Regions from separate parts of the Homo sapiens genome. Here region 1 is linked to region 2. The links are contacts of gene promoters, found by promoter capture Hi-C in blood cells and fetal thymus (Javierre and others, 2016). All regions are on one chromosome and are shown on one strand. The core of a region is centred on a gene start or on the middle of the fragment in contact, and the rest is flanking DNA. Distances in the headings are between cores, read along the strand shown.

The links. Contacts are between HindIII fragments. The CHiCAGO score rates a contact against its expected background, and 5 or more counts as called.
Region 1: a fragment that was not itself captured here is called in contact with the fragment with the promoter of BTN2A2 in region 2 in 1 of 17 cell types (neutrophils); the score reaches 5.0 in neutrophils.

The regions. Positions count from the first base shown.
Region 1 is chr6:26,645,663-26,651,282 of GRCh38, reverse strand. All of the region lies in intron 2 of ZNF322 (zinc finger protein 322), which reads left to right. Among named protein-coding and RNA genes, the nearest start is that of ZNF322, 11 kb to the left of the region's middle. The HindIII fragment of the contact is 2,310 bases long and covers 2,389-4,698 here.
Region 2 is chr6:26,381,156-26,386,137 of GRCh38, reverse strand. It overlaps BTN2A2 (butyrophilin subfamily 2 member A2), which reads right to left and starts at 3,030. Exons shown (of 8, transcript NM_006995.5): 1 at 2,957-3,030; 2 at 2,223-2,346; 3 at 776-1,123. The coding sequence starts at 2,316. RefSeq lists a silencer at 3,092-3,181. The HindIII fragment of the contact is 7,335 bases long and covers 1-4,982 here.

The DNA.
Region 1 (5,620 bases), core at 2,294-4,793, 260 kb before region 2:
AAATGAGAGAATTTTATTCTTTTTTTTTTTTTTTGCATGTGAATGTCTAGTTACTTCAGCACCATTTGTTGAAAAGACTGTCTTTTTCTGCCTTGTATTTATTGCCTTTGTTCCTTTATCATGGATCAGCTGACTCTATTTATATGGGTATATTTTTGGACTCTATTCTGTTCCATTTATCTATTTGTCTGTTTTTTCACCATTACCACACTTTCTTGATTACTATAGCTTTAGTCTTGTAACTTCAAATAGTATAGTAAGTGTTGAAGTTAGGTAGCATCAGTCCTCCAACTTTGTTCCTGCCCTTCAGCATTATGATCGCTAATCTAGGTCTTTTACCTCTTCATATAAACTTTGTATCAGTATGTCAATATTCACAAGATAATTTGCTGGGATTGTGTTGAATCTGTAGTACAAGTTGGGAAGAACTGACTATTTGACAATATTGAATCTTCTTATCCATGGATGTGGAATATCCCTCCATTTATTTAGTTCTCTTTTTTATTTCTTAGAGTTTTCAAATTTTCTTTGCATAAATTATGAACATATTTGGTTAGATTTATACTTAAGATGTTTTATTTTTTAGAGTGTTAATGTAAATGGTATTGTGTTTTTAATTTCAAATTTTACTTGTTCATTGCTGGTATAGAGGAAAATAATTGATTTGTATGTTAACCCTGTATTGTACAACCTTAACTGTAATCACTTCCTAGTCCCAGGAGTTTTTTGTCAATGATTTTTTCAGATTTTTACATATATGGTCATGTCACTTACAAAGACAGTTTTATTTCTTCCTTCCTAATCTCTATACCTTTTATTTCCTTTTCTTGTCTTGTAGCATTATCTCTCTATTCCAGTATTATGTTGAAAAGCAGTGGTGAGAGAGAACATTCTTACCTTGTTCCTGATGTTAGCTGAAAGCTTCTAAGTTTTCACCATTAAGTATGATGTTAGCAGTGGTTTTCTTGTAGATGTGCTTTATCAACTTGAAGAAGTTTCTCTTTGTTCCTAGTAATATCACTTATTTTAATTTGCATTTCTCTAATTATGAGATTGAACAGCTTCTCATATATTTAAGGGACATTTTTATATTTTGTGTGTGTGAGAATTGTCTTTTGCTTATTTTTCTATCAGATGTTTGTCGTTTTCCCTCAATTTTTAAGAGATCTTTATATATTAGGTATATTGTCCCTGTATCTCAAATATTGTTACAAATATTTTCTCTTAGTTTGCCCATTGACCGTTGACTTTGTTCATTTTTTATATATATAAAATGTTTTTGGCTGGCACAGTGGCGCACGCCTGTAATCCCAGCACTTTGGGAGGCTGAGGCGGGCAGATCACCTGAGGTCGGGAGTTCGAGATCAACCTGACCAACATGGAGAGACCCCGTCTCTACTAAAAATACAGAATTAGCCAGGCATGGTGGTGCATGCCTGCAATCCCAGCTACTCAGGAGGCTGAGGCAGGAGAATCACTTGAACTCAGGAGGCAGAGGTTGTGGTGAGCCAAGATCACGCCATTGCACTCCAGTCTGGGCAACAAGAGCGAAACTCAGTCTCAAAAAAAAAAAAAAAAAAATATATATATATATATATATATATATACACACACACACACACACACACACACACACACACACACATATGTATGTATATATAAAAGAAAACTTTAAAAAAAGTTTTTATTTTTAGTCAAATGATCAGTCTTACAGATAGAAAATTTTTGGTACCCTAAGATTAATGTAGAATTTACTTTAGTTTTCTTGTAGTATCTTATCATTTCCATGTATACATTTAGAACCCTAACCAATTGGGAGTTTATATTGGTGTGTGGTATGAAGTGTAGACCAAATTGTACCTATTTTCATGTGGCTACCTTGATGTTTTACCATCATTTATTAAAAAGTCCATTTTTGCCCTGGTGATTTGAGATGTCATCTTTATTGTATACTAAATTTCTATATGTGTTTATTTCTGGATTTCCTTTTCTATTTGTCCCTTTATCTAATTGTGTTTTGGAACTCTGTTGTTTTAATATTAGAAGCTTTAAAGTTTATTTTAATGTCTCATGGGTTTAGTTACCCTTCATAGTCTGTCTTTTCATTGCTTCATGGCTGTCCTTGTTGGTCTTTTCAAAGTGAACTTGAGTAGCAACTGTACAGCTTAGGCATTGGAGATTTTTCTTTAAAGGGCCAGAAAGTATTGTATTTAGGCTTTGGTGGCTATCTGGTCTCTATTGTGACTACTCAATTCTGCCTTTCAATACATTAATGAATAAGTATGACCCTATTTCAGTAAAATTTTATTTGAAAAAAACAGGTGGCAGGCCAGAATTGGCCTGTGGGCCATAGTTTGCCACCCCTTAGTCTAGTTTCATAAAGAAGCTTGTTATTTTTATTGAGATTGCATTGTTTATAAATCTTAGGAGGGAACATCTTCATAATGTTGAATTGTTCTATGCAAGAACAAAGGCTGTCCTTCCATTTATTCGAGTCTATTTTTGGGTCTCAGGAGGGAGAAGTTTTCCTATGCTTTATTTGGCATGGCTATGTTTTATTTATTTCTAAGTAGTTTTATATTGCTGCTGTTATACAAAGGTTGTTCTCTATCATTGTGTGTTCCAATTAGTTATTCTTTATATTTATGTAAAAAACTGGTGGTTTCTGTGTGGCAAATTTTATATCCTGCTACCATACTGAATTCCTTTATCATTTGAGTTAGTTTTAGCATTGGTCCTTTGTAGGGTTTTCTAATTCTACTATTAAATCACCTCCAAATAGAGATAGTTTTACTTCTTTCACACCTCTAATTGATTTTTCTAATTGCATTGATTAATACTTCCAGGTCAGTGATTGAAAAGAGAAGTATTGGCCATACTTGCCTTGTTCCTGATCTTAGTAAAAATTATTGTAGTTTTTCTAACTTAAGGTACTGGATGAAGGAATGTATGTTTTATCATATTAAAAGGAAATATCTATTAATTTCCACTTTCTTGAGTGTTTTTATCCAGAATAGATGTTGATTTCTGTTGCAGGTTCTTTCACTATCTATGGAGATAATATATTATTTTTCTCCATAGGTCTGTTCATATGGGGTATTATATTTAGTGGATTTCCTCATATTGAAAGATAGTCTAATTTTGAACCAATTTTGCAAAAATTCCACTTGGTCATGGTATATTATTTTCTTAATGTGGTATTGATTTTTGTTAGTATTTCTCACATTCATAAAAAATGTTAGCCAGGCATGGTGGTGTGTACCTATACCCCAGCTATTCAGGAGGCTGAGCCAGGAGAATTGCTTGAGCCTAGGAGCTTGAGGCTACAGTGGGCTATGATTGTGCCACTGCTCTCCAGCCTGGGTATCAGAGCAAGACCCCGACTCTTTAAAAAAAAAAAAAAAAGCGATATTGGATATTAAAATTTTTTTATGCTCTCTTCATCAGGTTTAGTTACCAGTGCTATCCTTATTTCACAAAAAGAATTAGGAAGTTGTGCTTCATTTTCGGTGCTCTGGAAAATATGTATGAAGCATTGTATTTATTTGGTCTGTGTAGATTTATAGAATTATTTCGTGAAATAATCTGGGCCTAGTGCTTTTTATGGAATGGTTCCTTTATAACTTTTTCTATTTATTCTCTGCAAATTGGTGTTTTAAGACTTTATATCTTTAATGGAGTCAACTCTAATAAATTGTGTTTCATAAAGAAACCCTTATTTTATAGTTAATCATATTTATTTATATAGAGATTTGCAAAGTGGTTTCATGTATGTGTGTTTTTCTTTTCGGTGGTTATTCTTCCTTGTCATTTCTTATTTTGTAAATGTGTGCTTTCTTCCTTTTTTTCAATTAAGTAACCTAGTGGTTTATCTGTTTCTTTAAGTTTTACAAAATAAGTATGATTTTGATTTATCATTAGATTTACTGTCTTTTTGTTCTCTAGTTCATTGATTTCTCCTTTTATCTATTTTTGTTATTATTTTGATTTTTTTTCCCATTAAAAAACAAAATAGAGACAGGATCTTGCTATGTTGTCCAGGCTGGTCTTGAACTCCTGGGTTCAAACAATCCTACTGCCTCGGCCTCCCAAAGCACTGGGATTGTAGGTATGAGCTACCATACCTACTTATTTATTTAAAATAGAAATTGGGTCTCATTAATATTGCCCAGGCTGGTCTTGAACTCCTGGGCTCAATTGAAATTTATTTTTTTCTTAGCTTTTGATCTAAGAATTTAACTTGTTCATTTAAATTCTTCTGTTTTTATTGATTAAAGAAATATAGGCATGAACTGGTTTAAATTTATCCCATAGATTGTAATATATAATATTTTCAATTATGAATACTTAAAAATTTTGTTAACTTTTTCATTGCCCCTTTTACTGAATAGTTTTTTAACAGTTTATTTTCCCCCCATTTGAAAGGACCTTTGGTCGCTTGATATTTTAATAAATTTCTAGTTTTGTTGCAGATTGTTTCTTGTAATGTTTCTTTGCGATAATGATGCTTCCTTTATTACATAATATATGACAGATTTTTGTGGATGATTCATGTGTTCTTAAAAAGAATGTGTACTTATCAGGACATACGGTTTAATATAAATAAGATTTACTTATTAATTAGGTTATTTAGGCCTTCTGCATCATTACTTCTTGGTCCAGTTTGTATGTCTTTTATTGAGAGTGGTATATTAAGCTTTCCTATTATTAATATTTTTATCTCTGTTTCTTTGTATCTGTTTCTCTGTTTTTCCTTTGTAAATGTGCCTGCTGTGTAATGTGATACATAGATAACCATGACTTTAGTGTAATTTAGAAAGTATTATTATGTTTAATTCTTTTGGCTTGAACTCTACTTTGCCTGATATCAGGATCAAAAGCCCTACTTTTATTGTTTCTGTTTGCCTAGTGTTCCTTTTCCCACCTCCTTATTTTTAGCCTGCCTGAATCACTTTGCTTTAGGTGTCTCTTGTATTTAGCATATAGTTAGGTCTTGCTTGTGAGCCAAAATGAAAATCTCTTTCTTTTAATAGGTGTGTTAAGCTCATTTATATTTATTGATATAGTTGATGTTTGGTTTTAACAATGTCATATTGTTATAACTGTATTTTGTTACTTTTTTTTCTACGATAGGTTTTCATAGCTCTTTCATGACTTTCTGTTTTGAATGTTTGATTTTTGTTATATTAGCTACTTTTGTACTTAGATTTATTTATTTATTTATTTATTTATTTATTTATTTATTTATTTTGAGGCGGAGTTTCGCTGTTGTTGCCCAGGCTGGAGTGCAATGGCCTGATCTTGGCTCACCGCAACCTCCACCTCCTGGGTTCAAGTGATTCTCCTGCCTCAGCCTCCCAAGTAGCTGGGATTACAGGGATGTGCCACCACACCCGGCTAATTTTGTATTTTTAGTAGAGACAGGGTTTCTCCATGTTGGTCAGGCTGGTCTCGAACTCCCGACCTCATATGATCCGCCTGCCTCGGTCTCCCAAAGTGCGGGGATTACAGGCGTGAGCCACCGCACCTGACCATACTTAGATCTTTTTTAATGCCTTTAGTTCATTAAAAAAATAAATTTTTATATTTAACCTTTAATTATTTGGTTTTTAAGGGTTTC
Region 2 (4,982 bases), core at 1,781-4,280:
CATCTATTTATATAAAAGTCACTCTCTCTGCAATCAGTATTTCAGGAAAGAAGAAAATGTCAAGATTAATATTTATCGAAAAATAAGATTTCATGTCATAGTTCTCTGGGCAGTTCTTATTGATTCTGATTGCCCCGGGACAATTTTTGACAGTGTCTCCTTTCACTCTCAGACGTGCACAGTTCAGTGCCAAGGCAGGCATAAGACTTTCTTTTCCGGGATTAACTATTTTCCCCTGCTCATGGCCTCAGCTGAGGAATGCGTGTGCTTCTGAAGAAGTGAAGCCCAGGCTGGGCGTGGTGGCGCACGCCTGTAATCCTAGCACTTTGGGAGACTGAGGCAGGTGGATCACAAGGTCAGGAGTTTGAGACCAGCCTGCCAACATGGTGAAACCCCGTCTCTACTAAAAAAATGCAAAAATTAGCCGGGCATGGTGGTGTATGCCTGTAATCTCAGCTACTCAGGAGGCTGAGGCAGGAGAATAGCTTGAACCCAGGAGGCAGAGGTTGCAGTGAGCCAAGATCGCACCACTGCACTCCAGCCTGGGCAACATAGCAAGACTCTGTCTTGAAAAAAAAAAAAAAAGAAGTGAAACCTATAGCTTAGCAGGGCAAACCCACTCATGTGGCCTTTGTGCAAGAGGAAGCCACTTTCTCTGTGGAAAGGGGACGCCAGATAGAAATCCGTTGGTCTGCAATGGGCCTGAGGTTAAGGGAGAAACTTTCCCCAAAAGTCACACTGTGCAAAAGTAATAAAGCAAAATGAAGTGATGCACCTGCCACCACGAGGCGTAGGATGGCCTCATCGTAGGACCTGCCTTCTTGGAAGTAACAGCGGTAGATCCCATTCTCCTGGGCTGTGACGTTATGTATGACCAGGGCCACGCTGCCCCTGTTGATGTCTTTGCTCACAAAGGTGATTCTTCCCCGGTACTCCTCCATCTGCTCCTCTGTTCTCTCTCTCCCACCCTTATACACAAACACTGCGGGGGAGAACTGAGACCGGAACCACCGCACCTCCATGTCCTCAGCATTTTTCTCGGGTGACAGATGGCAGCGTAATGTAGTGTTTTCTCCCACCATGGCCAGGATGGGATTAGCTGGCCCCACGACAGTAAACTGGGCTGTTCAACAAGGGCAGAATCAGACAAGGATGCCAGTTATCACAACTCTAAGGCAAAACAAAAAACAAAAAACAAAAACAAACAAACAAAAAAAACTCCAGGGATGAAAGGAAGCAGATATTCCAAGGCTACAGGGGTTCTTGGGCTGAGAACCCTTCTGGGGACCAGTAGCTGTGGCTGGTCGGCAGCACCAACCCCTGGGAGCAGTAACTATTGAGGCTGCTCCTGCTTCACGAAGGAAACATTGGGGAGCCCGCCCTGGGCACCCTGTGCCCCTGAGATTTTCCTCCATTTTGCAATCTAGCACTGTGCCTGAGTGTAGTGTAAACTTGAACTGTCCATTAGGGTATCTATCCACTAGCTATTTAACAGTTCCAATAAAAATGAACTCTAAGTGTAAAACACACACAGATTATAAAGATTTAAAATTTCAAAATGTCAAATATCTCATTGGTAATAGTTCTATTAACTAAGCATTTAAATATTGATATGTGATTATTTATATGAAACAAAATACATTATTAAAATTTATTTCAAGTATGTTTTTACCTTTTAAAATAAAAAGTAGAATAGGCACAGGGTCTTGCGCCTGTAATTGCAGATATTTGGGAGGCCAAAGTGGGAGGATCCTTAACAGCTAGGAGTTTGAGACCAGCCTGGGCAAAATAGTGAGACCCTGTCTCTACAAAAAATAAAACTTAGTCGAGTGTGGTGGCCCTTGCTTGTACTCTCAGCTACTTGGGAGGCTGAGATGGGAGGATCCCTTGAGCCCAGGAGTTTCAGGTTACAGTGAGTTATGATCTCATTCTCCATCTGCTTCATTCCGGCCTGGCAACAGAGCAATATACTCTCTCTTAAATAAATAAACAAATAAATAAAAAGTTAAAAAAATCTTTTTGAAGATTTGCACTTGTATATGCACTTGACCTTTGTGCTTCACTGTGTTTCTTTTGGACAGTGCTGGTATAAATTCAGTGAACATGTTCAGAATGAAAGGATAAGTCAACAACCCCACAGTTCTTCCTTCTTTCCCTTTGCAGACTACAGGGTTGATGTTCCTTTCTGAGAGGTGACAGCAGCAAGTGACACACATCCCTACCTGAGACCAGTGCACACAGGCTGAGAAGGAGGAGGAGCAGGAGGAGGAGGAGGGAGGCTGGCAGGGAGAAGTGCAGAGCAGCAGCTGGTTCCATGAGCACCCAGGGCAGGCAGAGACCAGAGGCCTAGGGTTACAGAGGAGGAGAATCAGCCTAGGAGTCTTGGCACCTCAGTGCTGGTCGGGCCCAACCTCTCCTGTCACTCAAGTAGGTCTCATCGGTGCCCCAACTTCTGGGAGTCGCTTGCATCTCAAGGCTCAGGTATCTCCGAAAGAGGGATTCCGTAAACATTCCATAAGTAAGCCATCAATGCAGAGATCAAGGGGGCCGTTTTCCTCCTTCCTCTTCCCACTTCTCGGGCCACAGTCCGGTTTCTTCAGTTGTCCCTGGATTCTTTCACACCCTCGTCCCTCCACTTCCCCCTCCCCGAGACCCAGGTCGGGACACTCGAGGTAAAGCCAGGCGAGGCTGCGCCTCCCCACCAGTAGGCTTCCTGTCTCCCAGGTCCCCCTCTCCTCTCCAGAGCAGATCCCGCTCCCCGCACCTACCGCCCCCAGCTACCGCCCCCACCCCGGAGCTGTAGCGCCTCCTCTCCCTTTCCTACCTTCTAGAACTAACCTCTGTTTTCTTTTCCCCTCTGATCCTCACATGACGATTTTCCGATACAACTCACCCATGGGCACAGTCACCACCAGACAACAAAGCATCCCAAAGAGAAGAGAAAAGCTGTGTTCACCTCCTATTAATCGCGATGTTTGGAGTTGCGGACTCGGTATCTGGGACCTGTTCTCTGGGTGTCCAAAAAGTCCCAAGATTTCCACTGAGCAGTTTAGAGCCCAGGATTGGCCGAGTGAGGCTGAACCAACCAATGGTGTCTCGAGCCTTATTTCTCAGCTGTTACTAGGTAGAATACACACACAAAAACCCCCCAAAAATCTCAAGCAGCAAATAACCTTTTGGGATTATTAGGTATTTCTATTTCCTTTTTCTGTCTTTGGAAGCAAGACTTTTTTCCTTTATTTTCCTTTCTTCCTTCCTTTCTTCCTTCCTTCCTTGCTTCCTTCTTTCCTTTCTCATTCTCTTTTTCTTTCTTTCTTTCTTTCATATGTCTCTCTCTCACTTTATTCTTTCTTTCTTTCTCGCTTTCTTTCTTTTTTCTTCCTTCCTTCCTTCCTCTCTCTTCCTTTCTCTCTTTCTCTTCCTTCTCTTCTCCTTCCTTTCTTTCTTTCTCTTTCTTTCTTTCTTTCTTTCTTTCTTTCTTTCTTTCTTTCTTTCTTTCTTTCTTTCTTTCTTTCCTTCTCTCTCTCTCTCTTTCTTTCTTTCCTTCCGTTCTTTTACAAAGCCTTGAGATCCCCAAGGTGTCAGTGGCTTTGCTGGTGTAGACGAGGAGAGGGCTCTCTATGTAGAGTGATTTTGCTGGGGAGGAAACATGAGGAGGAAAACATAAGCCGCCGTCTTTCCAAAGCCAGAGGACTCTTGTTCATGTTGCTGGCTTTGAAGGTTGGGCCTGGTGCGCGGGAGGCCTTGGGGGAAGCAGGCATGGCTGGAGTGGGAGGGGTAGCAAAGGAAAGGTGACAGCAGTTGCAGTGGCTGTTATGAAGGTCTTGTTGTTCACTCCAAAGCTATTGGATAAGACGTGCTGAGAATACTGAGTGAGGATTAAAAACCCTTTCCCACGGGGAGGTGGTATTCTGGTGGAGGCAGAAGATGGAAGTGAGCAAAGACTTTCAGTTGACCTTGACCTTCTGCCAGTAGGTGGTGGGGTTAAGTCCAAGGACCACACACACACACCAGCACACATAACCTCCTCCCCATGAACATAATCCCTCCCCCACAGAATCCAATCTTGTCATTGTATAGATATCTTCCAGAATAATCTTCCCAAGGCCCAGTTGTCAATAATCCCCTCAAATGTCTAAATACTTAGTCTGGAACTGGTGCAGTGGCTCACACCTGTAATCCCAACACTTTGGGAGGAGGAGGCAGGCAGATCACTTGAAGTCAGGAGTTCAAGACCAGCATGGCCAACATGATGAAACCCCGTCTCTACCAAAAAAAAAAAAAAAAAAAAAATTAGCTGGGTGTGGTGGCACATGCCTGTAATCCCAGCTACTCAGGAGGCTGAGGCAGGAGAATGGCTTGAACCTGGGAGGTGGAGGTTAGGGTGAGCTGAGATCATGCCACTGCACTCCAGCCTGGGTGACAAAGTGAGACCCTGCCTCAAAATAAATAAATAAATAATAAAATATACACAAATAAATGCTTAGTCTAGAGGCCTCCAATTCCCTTCTGATTCAATTCAAAACTTTGCAGTTAATACACTAGCAATGGCTCCACAGTGGCCTTGCATCACAACGTTGCACTCCCTGTGGCCAGCGCTCCCTTTCCCATGCCATGCCTTTCACTTGAATTGCTTGCTCCATCTTTGCCCCTTGAAATCCTGCCCAGCCTTCGTGCCTACTTCCTCCAAGAACAACTCTGAATGCTCCTGCCTGAAGTGCTCTCGGCCTCTTCTAACACCCATATCTTTTGCTGTTCCCATGTCCTGTCTTCTATTATTGTTATCCAGGTATCAACTGTGTCTTTGCTGTGACTGGAGTACCTGTTCCTCAGGACAGACTTCTGCAGGATGTGATTCTTCTCTCCTTACAAGGCCCAACTCTAAGCTCTGCTCTCAGCTGTTGTTCAATGCATGAGTGACATGCTCAGGGTAAGGTCATTCCCACCACAGGATGGCCCAGTTCCTGGAATCATTCGGCACC